Linked DNA regions of Homo sapiens: regions 1, 2, 3 and 4 are each linked to region 5. The links are contacts of gene promoters, found by promoter capture Hi-C in blood cells and fetal thymus (Javierre and others, 2016). All regions are on one chromosome and are shown on one strand. The core of a region is centred on a gene start or on the middle of the fragment in contact, and the rest is flanking DNA. Distances in the headings are between cores, read along the strand shown.

Region 1 (2,700 bases), core at 101-2,600, 560 kb after region 5:
TGTTGAGAAAATGCAAAATGCATCTTTGCCAGGGCAACTGTCACTCTGCTGAAATATTTAGGCCTTTTGCCTCACTTTCTTCTGTTCTATGTGTGTTTTGCCTTTGGGGTACTGATTCCACTGGAGGATGGGAAGGGAAAGAAAGCGGAACTCCAACCAGGACATTTTGCTGACTTTCAGTAGTAGTAGCCTGGAGACCTGTGCAAGGGTGTGATGGACTATTTCCTGCAATCCCCTCCCTAAACCCAATTCATATCCTGTTGCTGATGGATGTGAAACCGTTCCTTTCATTTGAAAGAGGATGATGATGACCATAACTCTTTATACCTACAGCTTAAAAGCACCTTCACATGCATCAGCTCAAGCTTTCATGACTCTTGGGAGGTAGGTGTTGTTATCCCTACATGCTTAGTAAGTGGCAGAAGCCACAATTCAAACCCATTGCCTCTGACTCTGAGTCCAATGTTCTTTCAATTACAAACCAGCATGCTGATTTGTTATCAGCCAAAACTCTTCCAAAGCCCACTTAGTCCTATTCTGGCTGCACAGAAATATTTTGTTTTTTTGAGACAGTTTCACCCTTGTTGCCCAGGCTGGAGTGCAATGGTGCGATCTTGGCTCACCACAACCTCCGCCTCCCGGGTTCAAGTGATTCTTCTGCCTTGGCCTCCAGAGTAGCTGGGATTACAGGCATGTGCCACCACCCTCAGCTAATTTTGTATTTTTAGTAGAGACAGGTTTCTCCATGTTGGTCAGGCTGGTCTCGAACTCCTGACCTCAGGTGATCCACTCGCCTCGGCCTCCCAAAGTGCTGAGATTACAGGCAGGAGCCACGGCAGCCGGCCGTGCTGCATGGAAATTAACAAGACTTCAAGAGTCTCACTGCAGGCTGGGCGCAGTGGCTGACGTCTGTAATCCCTGCACTTTGGGAGGCCAAGGCAGGTGGATCACCTGAGGTCAAGTTCAAGACGAGCCTGGAAAACATGATGAAACCCCGTCTCTAGTAAAAATACAAAAAATTGGCCAGGCGTGGTGGCTCATGCCTGTAATCCCAGCACTTCGGGAGGCCAAAGCAGGTGGATCACGAGGTCAGGAGTTCAAGACCAGCCTGGCCAACATGGTGAAACCCCATCTCTACTAAAAATACAAAAATTAGCCAGGTGTGGTGGTGGGCACCTGTAATCCCAGCTACTCGGGAGCCTGAGGCAGAGAACTGCTTGAACCCAGGAGGCAAAGGTTGCAGTGAGCCGAGATTGTGCCACTGCATTCCGGCTTGGGCGACAGAGCGAGACTCCATCTCAAAAAAAAAAAAAAATACAAAAAATAGCCAGATGTTGTGGCAGACACCTACCCGCTGACCTGTGGTGAGCCAAGATCACGCTACTGCCCTCCAGCCTGGGCAAGAAGAGCGCAACTCCGTCTCTCTTTTTTTTTTTTTTTTTGATGGAGTCTCGCTCTGTCACCCAGGCTGGAGTGCAGTCGCATGATTTCGGCTCACTAAAACCTCCACCTCCCGAGTTCAAGCAATTCTCCTGCCTCAGCCTCCTGAGGAGCTGGGATTACAGGCCCGTGCCACCACACCCGGCTCATTTTTATATTTTTAATAGAGACAGGGTTTCACCATGTTGGTCAGGCTGGTCTCAAACTCCTCACCTCAAGTGATCCGCCCATCTCGGCCTCCCAAAGTGCTGGGATTACAGGTGTGAGCCACTGCACCCGGCCAACTCCGTCTCAGAAAAAAAAAAAAAAAAAAAAGAGTCTCACTGCACTAAGCAGAATTATGTAGTGAAGAGAGAATGTATGCTTGTCTTTGCTTGCTGGTGACCTTGTGCTGCACCCGCACCTCGGTGCCTTATCTATAAGATGGAGGTGAGGGCCACCTTGAAGCATGGTTCAGAGGTAAACCTATGCAAAAGTGCCAGCACAAGTACTGGCAGACAATCATTACTCAGCAGTGTTAGCAATCTTTTATTGTTCACCTTACCAGGTCTTTCTAAGCCCAAAGACCTCAGAATTGAGTCCCTCCAACTCAAGGCTTTGGTCTGTGATGAGGAACCAGAGGGGCAGGCTGTGGCAGGGCCTGACCATCTTCCATGACATCAAGCACAAAGCCAAGAGATATGCTCCAAAGTCCCATAAGATCCCTTTTCACCCTTCCTTTAGTGGCCTGTCCCAAGCATATTCCCCTTTCCCCATGAAGTAAAACTTATCCTAGAACTACGTCCTTGAAGATTCCAATATCAATAAAAGGCCCTCAGTCTGGAATTCTGGGATATAACTAAAAAGGTCTTCCTACTCCCTCTCCAAAGCCATATCCACATCCTGAATGATATTAGAAGCTTGCAAGTGGGTACATATTACAGACGCCACACTGACCCCTCCCAGCCTTCATCTTTTCAGATTCCATTCTTTGATTCTCACCCCCTGCCCCACCAACCCTACCATGTGGCAGAAGAGGCCGGCTCAGTCACCAGCACTCTCCCCCACTCCTGGAGTTTAATCTTTTTGCAGGGATCTCTTTTCTCCAAAAAGAGATCTGCACAGGGAGTGGCTCTCTGAAGCCAGTTGAGAACCTGCCCTGCTGGATTTACACAAACTGAAATCTCAAATGCCCACAGGGTCAGAGAGGTAAAGTAAATGAATTAAGAAGGGGGGCGTAATTCAGTGGAGAATGGCAGGGACTGTAGTGAACAGGAGAGC
Region 2 (2,700 bases), core at 101-2,600, 530 kb after region 5:
GGCGCAATCATGGCTCACTGAAGTCTCAGCCTCCCCGGCTCAAGCAATTCTCCTGCCTCAGCCTCCCGAGTACCTGGGACCACAGGCATGTGCCATCACACAGGCAAATTTTTTACTTTGTAAAAACGGGTTCCTATTATGTTGCCTAGGCTGGTCTCAAACACCTGGGCTCAAGTGATCCTTCTGCATTGGTTTCCTGAAGTGCTGGGATTACAGGCATGAGCCACTGTGCCTGGCCAAACTGTGGTTCTTTGGTAGAATTTCCTGGTTTTAAAAAAAAAAAAAGTGGGCTCTAGTCTTGCCGGGGACTCGTGGGGTAACTTGTTCTTGGGAGCCAGCGGTATGGCGTCGGGCTGCAAGATTGGCCCGTCCATCCTCAACAGCGACCTGGCCAATTTAGGGGCCAAGTGCCTCCAGATGCTAGACTCTGGGGCCGATTATCTGCATCTGGATGTAATGGATGGGCATTTTGTTCCCAACATCACCTTTGGTCACCCTGTGGTAGAAAGCCTTCGAAAGCAGCTAGGCCAGGACCCTTTCTTTGACATGCACATGATGGTGTCCAAGCCAGAACAGTGGGTAAAGCCAATGGCTGTAGCAGAAGCCAATCAGTACACCTTTCATCTCGAGGCTACTGAGAACCCAGGGACTTTGATTAAAGACATTCGGGAGAATGGGATGAAGGTTGGCCTTGCCATCAAACCAGGAACCTCAGTTGAGTATTTGGCACCATGGGCTAATCAAATAGATATGGCCTTGGTTATGACAGTGGAACCGGGGTTTGGAGAGCAGAAATTCATGGAAGATATGATGCCAAAGGTTCACTGGTTGAGGACCCAGTTCCCATCTTTGGATATAGAGGGCGATGGTGGAGTAGGTTCTGACACTGTCCATAAGTGTGCAGAGGCAGGAGCTAACATGACTGTATCTGGCAGTGCTATTATGAGGAGTGAAGACCCCAGATCTGTGATCAACCTATTAAGAAATATTTGCTCAGAAGCTGCTCAGAAACGTTCTCTTGATCGATGAAACCATAAGGAGCCCAATGTTTCTGTTCATGAAATCTCCCTTTTACTGGAAAACAGGAATATTGACTACCAAATCATCATGAAATTGAAGCTGTACTGCTTTTTTGAGCAGTTATTCATTCCAGTGATTAAAACTGATTGTGCAGAATATTCTAAGAGGTCAGAAATTGGTGTGTATAACTACATTTTTAGTGATGCAATTTAATGATTAGTGAGTAAGATACTGTTTTTATTGAGAGACTTGATTTTTATAAAGAGTAAAAATACGGCTGCATTAAGGTTACAAACAGAAAAGTGTCTTAATGCCTAAGGAGGGCATATTAGCTACACTACAAAAACAAATTTTGTCTGTACTTCTGAAAAGAATTTTGTTGTTTCTCAGCTGTTTTCCAAAAGCAAAGGAAGTCTTTATGGCTTTTTTCTATTTCATGTTATTTGTGATTTGTTTATAAGTTTGGGTGGGATGGCATACCATATTCTTGGTTCTTAAAATCTATCACTTTTCACCTTACACTTAATGTGTAAAAACTATAAAAACAATGCGTGAAACCCAGGGGTTCTAAAATACAAGCATAGATTTTATCAGGGTGTTTTTGTCAAAGCAGGTTATTCAGTGATTCCTCCCCACCATTCTTAAGGACGTTAAATAATGCTGTTGTGTTAGCTCTGAGTAGAAAGGAAAAAGTAAAAACCTCTGTATGGAAGTAATATTGGGTTGAATTCTGACTGCCCTTTTCTAGCTGGACCTTTAACAAATCACCCAGTCTTTTTTGTGTTTCTCTGAAGTCATTTATACATTAAATGTAATTATAACAACTGTGGGGTTGTGTTGAGAATTAAGAGGTAACACTATATATGTAAAGTTTCTAGTACTAGTCCCAGAATTTAGAATATGCTCAATACAAAGTAGATAGCATTATATAAGTTTATATTTTTGTGAGTTATAAAGTACTTTGATATATTCTCATTAAATCTGTAAATCACCTCTATAAGTAAGTGGTAATAATAAAGCAGATATTTTTGTCCCCATTTAAAAAAAAAAAAAAGTGTTCCCTAACAGTTTCCAGAGCACGAGCTGAAGGGATTGACGGGCTCCTCAAAGGCTATACACTTTTCATGGCCTTGTCTCTTCCAGGTACAGTGCTGGCTACTTTTACATATATGTTGTCAACAAATCCTCAGGATAATTCTAAGGCAATTCTACTGCAAATGAGATACTATCTTAATTTACAGTTGACAAAAACTGAGTCTCAGGAAGGTTGCCTGACCTGCTCAAGGTCATATAGCTAGTAAGGGTGCAGTATAGGTTCGAACCCACCTGCCTGATTACGTCTCCCATGCCAACTCCTATCCATTGGTAGCACCTGCCTGAAACAGTGACTTGAGAAAGAATTCCTAGGTTTTGAATTCTTAATTATTGAATTAAGAGGGTAAAGTGCCAGGTTTGATTAGTTGTGGCTGCCATGAGTGAGGAATGGTGAGTGGTGATGTACAAGCCTGGTATTTGCCATTTTCCCATTACCCCATGCCAGATAGTTCTACAGGAGGCTACTCAACTTGATTCTGAACATGGTTTTAAGAAAGAATGATCCAGCCTGGGCAACAATGTAAAACCCCATCTCTACAAAAAATACAAAAATTCTCCAGATGTGGTAGCATGTGCCTGTGGTCC
Region 3 (2,700 bases), core at 67-2,566, 550 kb before region 5:
GTAGCTGGGACTACAGTAGTCACTAGGCTTGGCTAGTTGTTTTTTTGTTTGTTTTGTTTTTGTTTTTGTTTTTAATTTTGTTTTGTAGAGACAGGGTCTCCCTGTGTTGCCCAGGCTACTCTCAAACAATCCTCCCACCTCAGCCTCCCAAAGTGCTGGGATTACAGGCGTGAGCCACTGTGCCCAGCCCAGAGTGTACCTTCTGATGTAAAATGAGAATACTGGCTGGGCCTGTAATCCCAGCACTTTGGGAGTCCAAGGCGGGTGGATCACGAGGTCAGGAGATCGAGACTATCCTGGCTACTTGCAGTGAGCTGAGATCGCACCACTGCACTCCAGGCTGGGTGACAGAGCAAGGCTCTGTCTCAAAAAAAGAGAGAATACTATCTCAACTCATTTGTAGATTCTTGACTCTCTCAGAGGCTTGTTGTAAGGACTGAGAATTTAAAGCACTTAGTACAGTCCCTGGCATATTATAAGCACTCCATAACTGCCTCTTGCTCAACAAAAAAAGCTTTGGAAATGATGTTCTTTGGTTTCCTTGTGATGTGCAACATGCCATTTTGGCAAAGGCATCAAGCATATGTTAATGATTATTTCCCTGCAATGGTTTTTTGTTGTTTCACGTTTATCATCTTTATTCCTGATACAAAAATGGATATGTGGAATTGGTCCTATTAGAAACTTCTTAGTTTTGTGAAGAATCTGGAATTCCTACCCCTTGCTGATGGGCTCTGGCACTGAAATCCGCAAATTCAGTCAACCAGACACATGGCTCATGCCCCTCTGCATCATGCTTCATGGACACAGGCAGGAGACTTCCTAATGCCCTGTTGGGGGCTTGCCCTTCGCCCGGTGTAGCCTTACTGCAACCCTGTTAGGTGGGTATCGAGTAGATCATTCCATTTGGGGCCAGGTAAGTCTTTGCTTTTGAGGACTGTCCTGTGTGTTGTAGGATGTGTGGCAGCGTCCCTGGCCTCTAACACTGCATGCCAATAGTTTCCCCTAGTTGTGACAACCAAAAACGGCTCCAGGCATTGCCAAATATTTTCTGGGAAGGAAAATTGCCCCTAGTTGAAAACCACTACGGAAACAGCCCTGAGTATCAAATGATTTACTTAGGGTTGATGAAACTGCAACTTAGTGGCACATTGAGACAAGAACACAGGTCTCTGTATGTCCAAACATGGAGCTACCTGTATTCAATAGTCTTTGTGAACCTGCTATGTACTCGTCATAGAACTCCCAGAGAGCTCAGTGTCTAATGGGGAAAGTCAGGCATGGGAATGGTTTCTGTGCACTGAGCTGAGTTCTGTCCCAAACTGAAGGTCAGAGTAGCACCCCTAAGGGTACAAGCAAGAAAATACTTGGCTTGGCCCGGTGTGGTGGCTCACACCTGTAATCCCAGCACTTTGGGAGGCCGAGGCAGGCAGATCACGAGGTCAGGAGTTCGAGACCAGCCTGGTCAACATAGTGAAACCTCGTCTCTACTAAAAATACAAAAAATTAGCCAGGTGTGGTGGCAGGCGCCTGTAATCCCAGCTACTCAGGAAACTGAGACAGGAGAATCGCTTGAAACCGGAAGGCGGAGGTTGCAGTGAGCCAAGATCGTGCCACTGCACTCCAGCCTGGGCAACAAAGTGAAACTCTGTCTCAAAAAAAAAAAAAAAAAAAAAGAAGAAGAAGAAGAAGAAAAGACTTGGCTGATGGTGGCCTAGGATTCTGAAGACAGCTGCAGTTTGCCAGGAGCGAGAAAAGTGCATACCGTGTAAGGAAGAGTGCCTTTTCCAGTGGGAGAAGAGGGCTGTTAGAATGGGTCAAGCAGAGGTGTGCGGGAGGTGGGGGCAAGATACTGCGAAATTTCACTGAGAGTTCAATGTCAATGGCCTTTTGTACCTAAGTTAGGAATTAGTACTTTATTTTGTCCACCTGAGTATGTTAGGAGATTTGATAGTCTAATACAATACTCCTGGCACTAATCCGGTTGCGGTGAAAGCACTATTTCTGCCGGACCACGAAGTTCTCAAATCCCTCCTGCAGAGCCTGTCTGCAGTTACCGATGGGGCCAGTAGGTGGCGATGTTGCCCCCCTGTTTAGGGAGCTGGGCTGGACTTAAATAGAAGCTTAACTCCTTACTTACTCCAGTGCTATTCAACAAACTTGAAGAGCCGGGCGCAGTGGCTCACGCCTGTAATCCCAGCACTTTGGGAGGCGGAGGCGGGCGGATCACGAGGTCAGCCGATCGAGACCAACCTGGTTAACACAGTGAAACCCCGTCTCTACTAAAAATACAAAAAATTAGCGGGGCGCCGTGGCGGGCGCCTATATAGTCCCAGCTACTCGGGAGGCTGAGGCAGGAGAATGGCGTGAGCCCGGGAGGCGGAGCTTGCAGTGAGCCGAGATAGCGCCACTGCACTCCAGCCTGGGCGACAGAGCGAGACTCCGTCTCAAAAAAAAAAAAAAACACCTTGAAGAGCCCACTGTGAGCCTTTGGATACACAGATGAATAAGACACAGGCCCTCATCTGAGGCTCTTTAGTTTTGGAAATTAGAGAAGGGGTTTTTTGTTTGTTTGTTTGTTTGTTTGTTTTGAGACAGAGTCTCGCTCTGTCGCCCAGGCTGGAGTGCTGTGGTGCCATCTCGGCTCACTGCAAGCTCTGCCTCCTGGGTTCACGCCATTCTCCTGCCTCAGCCTCCCGA
Region 4 (2,700 bases), core at 26-2,525, 680 kb after region 5:
TGGATCGCCTTACTTTTCAGAGCCTCAGTTTCCCCTTGCTTGAAAGGAAATTAAGGGTGAAATTATCAGCAAACTAGACCCCCCAAACTTTCCTGTTTCTATGAATCATATACCCATCCCTGATTCCATATCCTTGGCCCCACCCGGTCATCACTTCTTTAGTCTAAAGCCCTTGTAGAGTCTTATTACCAAGTGTCTGTCAGAACTAACCTCTCCTGTCTTCTGTTTTCACTTATACCCAGTTCTGGTTCTCATGGTTTCTCTGCTGTACTGCATTTGAATCCTTTTTTTTTTTTTTTTTTTCTGTCACTGAGATAACAGGAAACAGTGCATTTGAATCCTTCTACCGAATTTACTTGCCTTCAATACTGTCTCTCTTCATGTCCAATCTATAGCCTGCAGTATATTTTTCTTGCTTACTGTTCTCTCGCTTTCCCTGCTTAAGTCTCTGACTTGCCAAAGCAAACTACCCATATCTAATTCAAGGTCTTCCACAAAAAAGCCCAACTTCTCCTTTAATTTTTTTGAGACAGAGTCTCACTTTGTCTCCCAGGTTGGAGTGCGGCGGCATGATCTCAGCTCACTGCAACCTCCGCCTCCCGGCCTCAAGCAATTCTCACGCTTCAGCCTGCCTAGTAGCTGGGACTAGGCGCAGGCCACCACGCCCGGCTAATTTTTGCGTTTTTGGTAGAGACGGGGTTTCGCCATGTTGACTATGCTGGTCTCGAACTCCTGACCTCAGATGATCCACGCGCCTCGGGCTCCCGAAGTGCTGGCATTACAGGTGTGAGCCATGGTGCCCGGCCTTCTTTAAAATTTAACTTCAATTTTTATGCTTTAATCTCCCAGTGGTCTAGTTGAATAATTCCTCAGAGACAACAGCAAGCCTTTGAGCAGTTGTTTGATAGGGAAATTGCTGGTGTTTATTGAAATAATAGGCTTTTCCCATCCATGTCTTTTCTCACATTCCCTTTCTACCTGTCAAGCTTCTGTTCATCTTTTACCCTTAAGCTAAAAAAGATCTTCTTTATGAAGCTTGCCTCCTTTACTTATCCCTTCCTACATTGCCTTATCCCTTCCTACATCTTTGTGATCATTTATAATCTGATTTGCATTTTAAGTTACTTGCATAATTGTTTTATCTTCCAAAAAGTGTGCATGTTCTTTGAAGGCAGAGGATTATATATTCATCTGTAGAGCTACAGTGTATCTCTGACTTAACTGTAGCTTCTTAGTGAGTATGTGCTACATTGAATCTATAACTTCTTTTTCTGGAAGAAGGTGGGTGGACTTGTGGTTTTGAAGCAGAGACCTTTGGAAAGATGAAGTATGGATTATTCCGGGCCTGACATCTAAACCATCTATGTTGTAGTCCTGAATGTTGTCTAGCATATTGCTGGAACGTTCTGTCTCTTGCCCGTTGATAACACCTTTCTGAAATCTGCTACCAAGACAACATGTCACCATTATCCTTTGCATTGTTTTTAGGAGACCCAAACATGGCAAACCTGGAAGAAAGCTTCCCCCGAGGAGGTACAAGAAAGATCCACAAACCAGAGAAAGCTTTCCAGCAGTCAGTTGAACAAGACAACTTATTTGATGTAAGTAGTATGCTTGTTTGGTGACACTCACTGGAAACTTTTACTGTAGTGTCTTGTGAAAAATGAGCCTTATTTGAGAATGTGTTATTTTTCCAGATTTTTTTTGCATTGAAGTCTACTTCTATAAATTTAACTCATTTAGAGAGGCCATACCACCACAAGGCTGTATCTTTTGAAGCTTGGCATTTAGTATTAAAGTACTGTTATTAGCTGGGCGTAGTGGCTCATGCCTGTAATCCCAGCAGTTTGGGAAGCCGAGGCAGGCGGATCACTTGAGGCTAGGAATTCAAGAGCAGCCTGGCCAACATGGTGAAACCCCGTCTATACTAATACCAAAACTAGCTGGGCATGGTAGTATACCTGTAGTCCTAGCTACTTGGGAGGCTGAGGCATGAGAATTGCTTGAACCAAGAAGGTGGAGGTTGCACTGACCCAATATTGTGCCACTGCTCTCCTGCCTGGGCGACAGAGTGAGACTCTGTCTCAAAAAACACACAAACAAAATAAATAAAGTGCTGTTCCTTGTTCTTAGACACTCTTTGCCATGTGCCATGTTGATTAAGGATGGAGAGGAAGCAGTTTTTTTTTTTTTTTTTTTTTTGAGACGAAGTCTTACTCTGTTGCCCATGCTGAAGTGCAGTGGCGTGAGTAGCTGGGATTACAGGTGCCTGCTACCATACCTGACTAATTTTTGTATTTTTGTTAGAGATGGGGTTTCACCATGTTGGCCAGGCTGGTCTGAAACTCCTGACCTCAGATGATCTGCTCACCTTGACCTCCCAAAGTGCTGGGATGGCAGGTGTGAGCCACTGCACCCAGCTGATGTTTTTGTTATTTTTGTTGTTGTTTTTTCAAGAGATGGGGAGAGATGATGTTTCACTCTGTTACTCAGGCTGGACTTAAACTCCTGGGCTCAGTCGATCCTCCCTCCTTAGCCTCCTGAGTAACTGGAACAACAGGCATGTTCCACTGTGTCTGACTGATCATTGCATTTTTACAGGGGTTCCTTGCCACATGTAATGGTCAGAATTTGCATTAGACTTCACAGTCTCACCTAGACTAGGCTGTGCTCCAAATGCTTGGGGAAAGGGAACTAACA
Region 5 (2,700 bases), core at 45-2,544:
TAAATCAACAGAAATGGCTCAACATTTCTAAAAGTCAAGAAAGGAACTAGGAAGAGAGTTGGAGCAGTGACTATAAGTTTGATGACAGGCTCTTTGCAGCCAACTAACCTGCTTTAAGTGTTCAAAATCAATTTTTCTTTGATAGCTCTAAAATTACTCAATTCCATTTTAACTCCCTCCAACTAACTGTACAGACATTAACAAGAAACAGAGTGTCAACGGTCAGATCTGTCACAACCATAATTTAGAATTTGGGAAAGCTTTAATTGGGACTGACAGAGAAAAGCCTTGCCCCGGATTGAAGTTCGATCTCCATTTTTAACTTCTCGTTCTTTTCAGTTTGGAGAACTCAAGCTAGGATTAAGATCTTTTGGTCCTGGTATGGTCACACGCAAGAGGAGACTGCAAAAGGTTTCGAAGGAAATTCTAGAGACGGAGCAGCTAATATGTCTTCATCAACATGGATTATGTATTGAATGAAAAATCGGTCATCACCAACAATCAGATCCTGCAAAACTCTCAGCAAATAACTAAATAATTCGGGACTGAGGAAGCGCACCCGCCACGCAGACACCAAGACGGCGTAAAATCCACCAGGCATCCCTTCCAAGCGGCACCCCTTTGTGTCGTGGGACTTACTTCCCTACCCCCCAGGGGCCCGCACAGCGCGAGAAGGAGGAGAGCTAGGCTACCATCTCCCCTGCTACCGCCAGGGCGACCTCAGAGCCAATGGGGCCGGCCTTCTCTCCGCTTCTGGCCGGGCTCCAGACGAACCCCACTTTACTGCAAAGCCGCGAGACCGATTGCCCGGGAAGTCTAAGCCTGCTAGCGAAAGCTGCTCTCCGCAGTTCCTGGGATCCGCCCTCACCCCTGTCCCCAGAGTAATGATGGAGCCCGGGCTCCGCACCCGGCCAGCCGCGCACTCTGCCAGCCCCTTCCCCAAGCCTCGGACCCGCTGCAAGCCCCGCCTTCCTCTCCAGGCCCAGGCCTCCCTCCAGGGCCCACCCTCGGGTCTCCCCGCCGACCCCCGAAATCAGTCCACAACCCAGATAGCAGGCTGAGCGACGTCCCATTCCCTCCTTGGCTTTAAGCGCAGTGCTCCGCCCTGGGCCTGGGGACGGGAGGGGGATAACCGGCCGGCTCCAAGGGGGCCCAGGCCCCCACACTCACCATCCTCCCGCCGAGTCCCTCCTCCTCCTCCTCCTCCTGCTGCCTCCCCCGTTACCAGGGGCAACTGCTGCGGCGCCGCCCCCGACGTCCCTCGCACGCACAGCTGAGGAGCTGAGCAGCAATACGGGGCGGGGTGCAGCTCCGCTTTCCCCAGAGTGCGCAAGTGCGCTAAGGCGCCCGCCCACGCAGTGGGCGGGCTACGGGAGCTGCAGAGGCCGCCGCCGGCTCGCCTGGACCAGGGAGTGGAGAAAGCCTGCCCACGTGGCTGGCGGGAGCCTCCCGGCCTGGGATTGGTCGAAAAGGAGGGGCGTGGGGCGGGCGTGGGGGCAGTTCCCCAGCCCAGGTCCTCCTCTCACCCGGGCCAGTTTTCAAGGCGGGCTGTAACTGGTGGCATTTGTCCCGGGACCAGGTAAGGGGCCTTGGGACAATGGCGCTCGCCCTGTCTACCTCCAATCCCCACATCTCGGGTGGGTGCTGAGATTGCTGTCCTGACTGCCCAGGCGGGGCTGCAGCGCGGGCTGGACTTCCACCTGCAGAAGCCACGTGGCGCGAAGTGCGCCCTGGGGCTGCAGATGGGCCCCTCTGCTCTGACCCCCATTGCCTAGGAGTGCCAGGCCGAGCGGCTGGGGCGTTACGAGCTGTCCGGGATGGGGGAGTACCGATGGGGGGAGGCCGTCTGTCGGAGGGCAAGAAGCAGCCTGGGGGCTGGCCCTGAGCCCTGAGGTGAGCTGAAAGCACAGGTGAAAGGCGTTTTGGGGATCGGCCCGGTTTTTGTTTTGACACAGGGTGTCGCTCTGTCGCCCGGGCCGGAGTGCGGTGGCGCGATCTCGGCTCACTGCAGCCTTTGCCTCACAGGCTTAAGCGATTCTCCCGCCTCAGACTCTCGAGTAGCTGGGATTGCAGGCGGGCGCCACCACGCCTGGATAATTTTTTGTATTTTGTTTTTGTAGAGACGGAGTTTCGCCATGTTGCCCAGGCTGGGCTCGAACTCCTGGGGTCAAGCCATCCGCCCGCCTAGGCCTCCCAAAGTGCTGAGACTACAGGTGTTCCAAAGTGGTGAGCCACTGTGCCCAGCCTCTGGCCGGTTTTGCTAAGCTGCTTTGGACAGGACCGCGTACCATCTGTAGTCCTGGAGGAGGCAAAAATGAGCCTGCATTTTTAGCCAAGGAAGAGCAAGTGGGACACTGGGGTGGGTTGGGAAGTGCTACCTCCCATCCCTTTCCCGATGCAGAGGACTATAAGAAGAGTTTACACAAACGTGCTAGGCCCTGTTCTAGACGCTGGAGACACAGCAGTGGACAAAATCAGCCCGTATGGAAATTACATCCTTCCTAATGAAATACATTTCATACCAAATTTCATTTTCACAACCCCTAGAAATTGGTAATTGCGGCCAGGCGCAGTGGCTCATGCCTATAATCCCAGCACTTTGAGAGGTGGAAGGGGAGGAAGGCTTGAGCCCAGGAGTTGGAGACCAGCCCGGGCAACACAGTAGGACCCTGCCTCTACAAAAAAAAATTTTTTTTAATT

What was found. The method cuts DNA at HindIII sites, captures the fragments that hold promoters and counts their contacts. A CHiCAGO score of 5 or more calls a contact.
Region 1: a fragment that was not itself captured here is called in contact with the fragment with the promoter of ARL3 in region 5 in 1 of 17 cell types (endothelial precursors); the score reaches 5.2 in endothelial precursors.
Region 2: a contact is called between a fragment that was not itself captured here and the fragment with the promoter of ARL3 in region 5, in 1 of 17 cell types (neutrophils). The highest score is 6.8, in neutrophils.
Region 3: a fragment that was not itself captured here is called in contact with the fragment with the promoter of ARL3 in region 5 in 1 of 17 cell types (total CD8 T cells); the score reaches 5.3 in total CD8 T cells.
Region 4: a contact is called between a fragment that was not itself captured here and the fragment with the promoter of ARL3 in region 5, in 2 of 17 cell types (fetal thymus and erythroblasts). The highest score is 7.2, in fetal thymus.

What each region holds. Positions count from the first base shown.
Region 1 is chr10:103,273,483-103,276,182 of GRCh38, forward strand. No RefSeq gene overlaps it. Among named protein-coding and RNA genes, the nearest start is that of INA, 2.3 kb to the right of the region's middle. The HindIII fragment of the contact is 1,974 bases long and covers 364-2,337 here.
Region 2 is chr10:103,245,655-103,248,354 of GRCh38, forward strand. RPEL1 (ribulose-5-phosphate-3-epimerase like 1) reads left to right here and starts at 233. Exons shown (of 1, transcript NM_001143909.1): 1 at 233-2,362. The coding sequence starts at 343. The coding sequence ends at 1,029. The HindIII fragment of the contact is 5,051 bases long and covers 1-2,700 here.
Region 3 is chr10:102,167,529-102,170,228 of GRCh38, forward strand. No RefSeq gene overlaps it. Among named protein-coding and RNA genes, the nearest start is that of NOLC1, 16 kb to the left of the region's middle. The HindIII fragment of the contact is 1,609 bases long and covers 513-2,121 here.
Region 4 is chr10:103,396,928-103,399,627 of GRCh38, forward strand. PDCD11 (programmed cell death 11) reads left to right here. Exons shown (of 36, transcript NM_014976.2): 2 at 1,489-1,601. The coding sequence starts at 1,500. Among named protein-coding and RNA genes, the nearest start is that of PDCD11, 1.7 kb to the left of the region's middle. RefSeq lists enhancers at 183-684, 685-1,185. The HindIII fragment of the contact is 484 bases long and covers 1,034-1,517 here.
Region 5 is chr10:102,713,103-102,715,802 of GRCh38, forward strand. It overlaps ARL3 (ARF like GTPase 3), which reads right to left and starts at 1,295. Exons shown (of 6, transcript NM_004311.4): 1 at 1,171-1,295. The coding sequence starts at 1,173. It overlaps SFXN2 (sideroflexin 2), which reads left to right and starts at 1,534. Exons shown (of 12, transcript NM_178858.6): 1 at 1,534-1,579. RefSeq lists silencers at 955-1,054, 1,095-1,144, 1,212-1,606, 1,425-1,574 and enhancers at 1,360-1,936, 1,937-2,512. The HindIII fragment of the contact is 3,072 bases long and covers 259-2,700 here.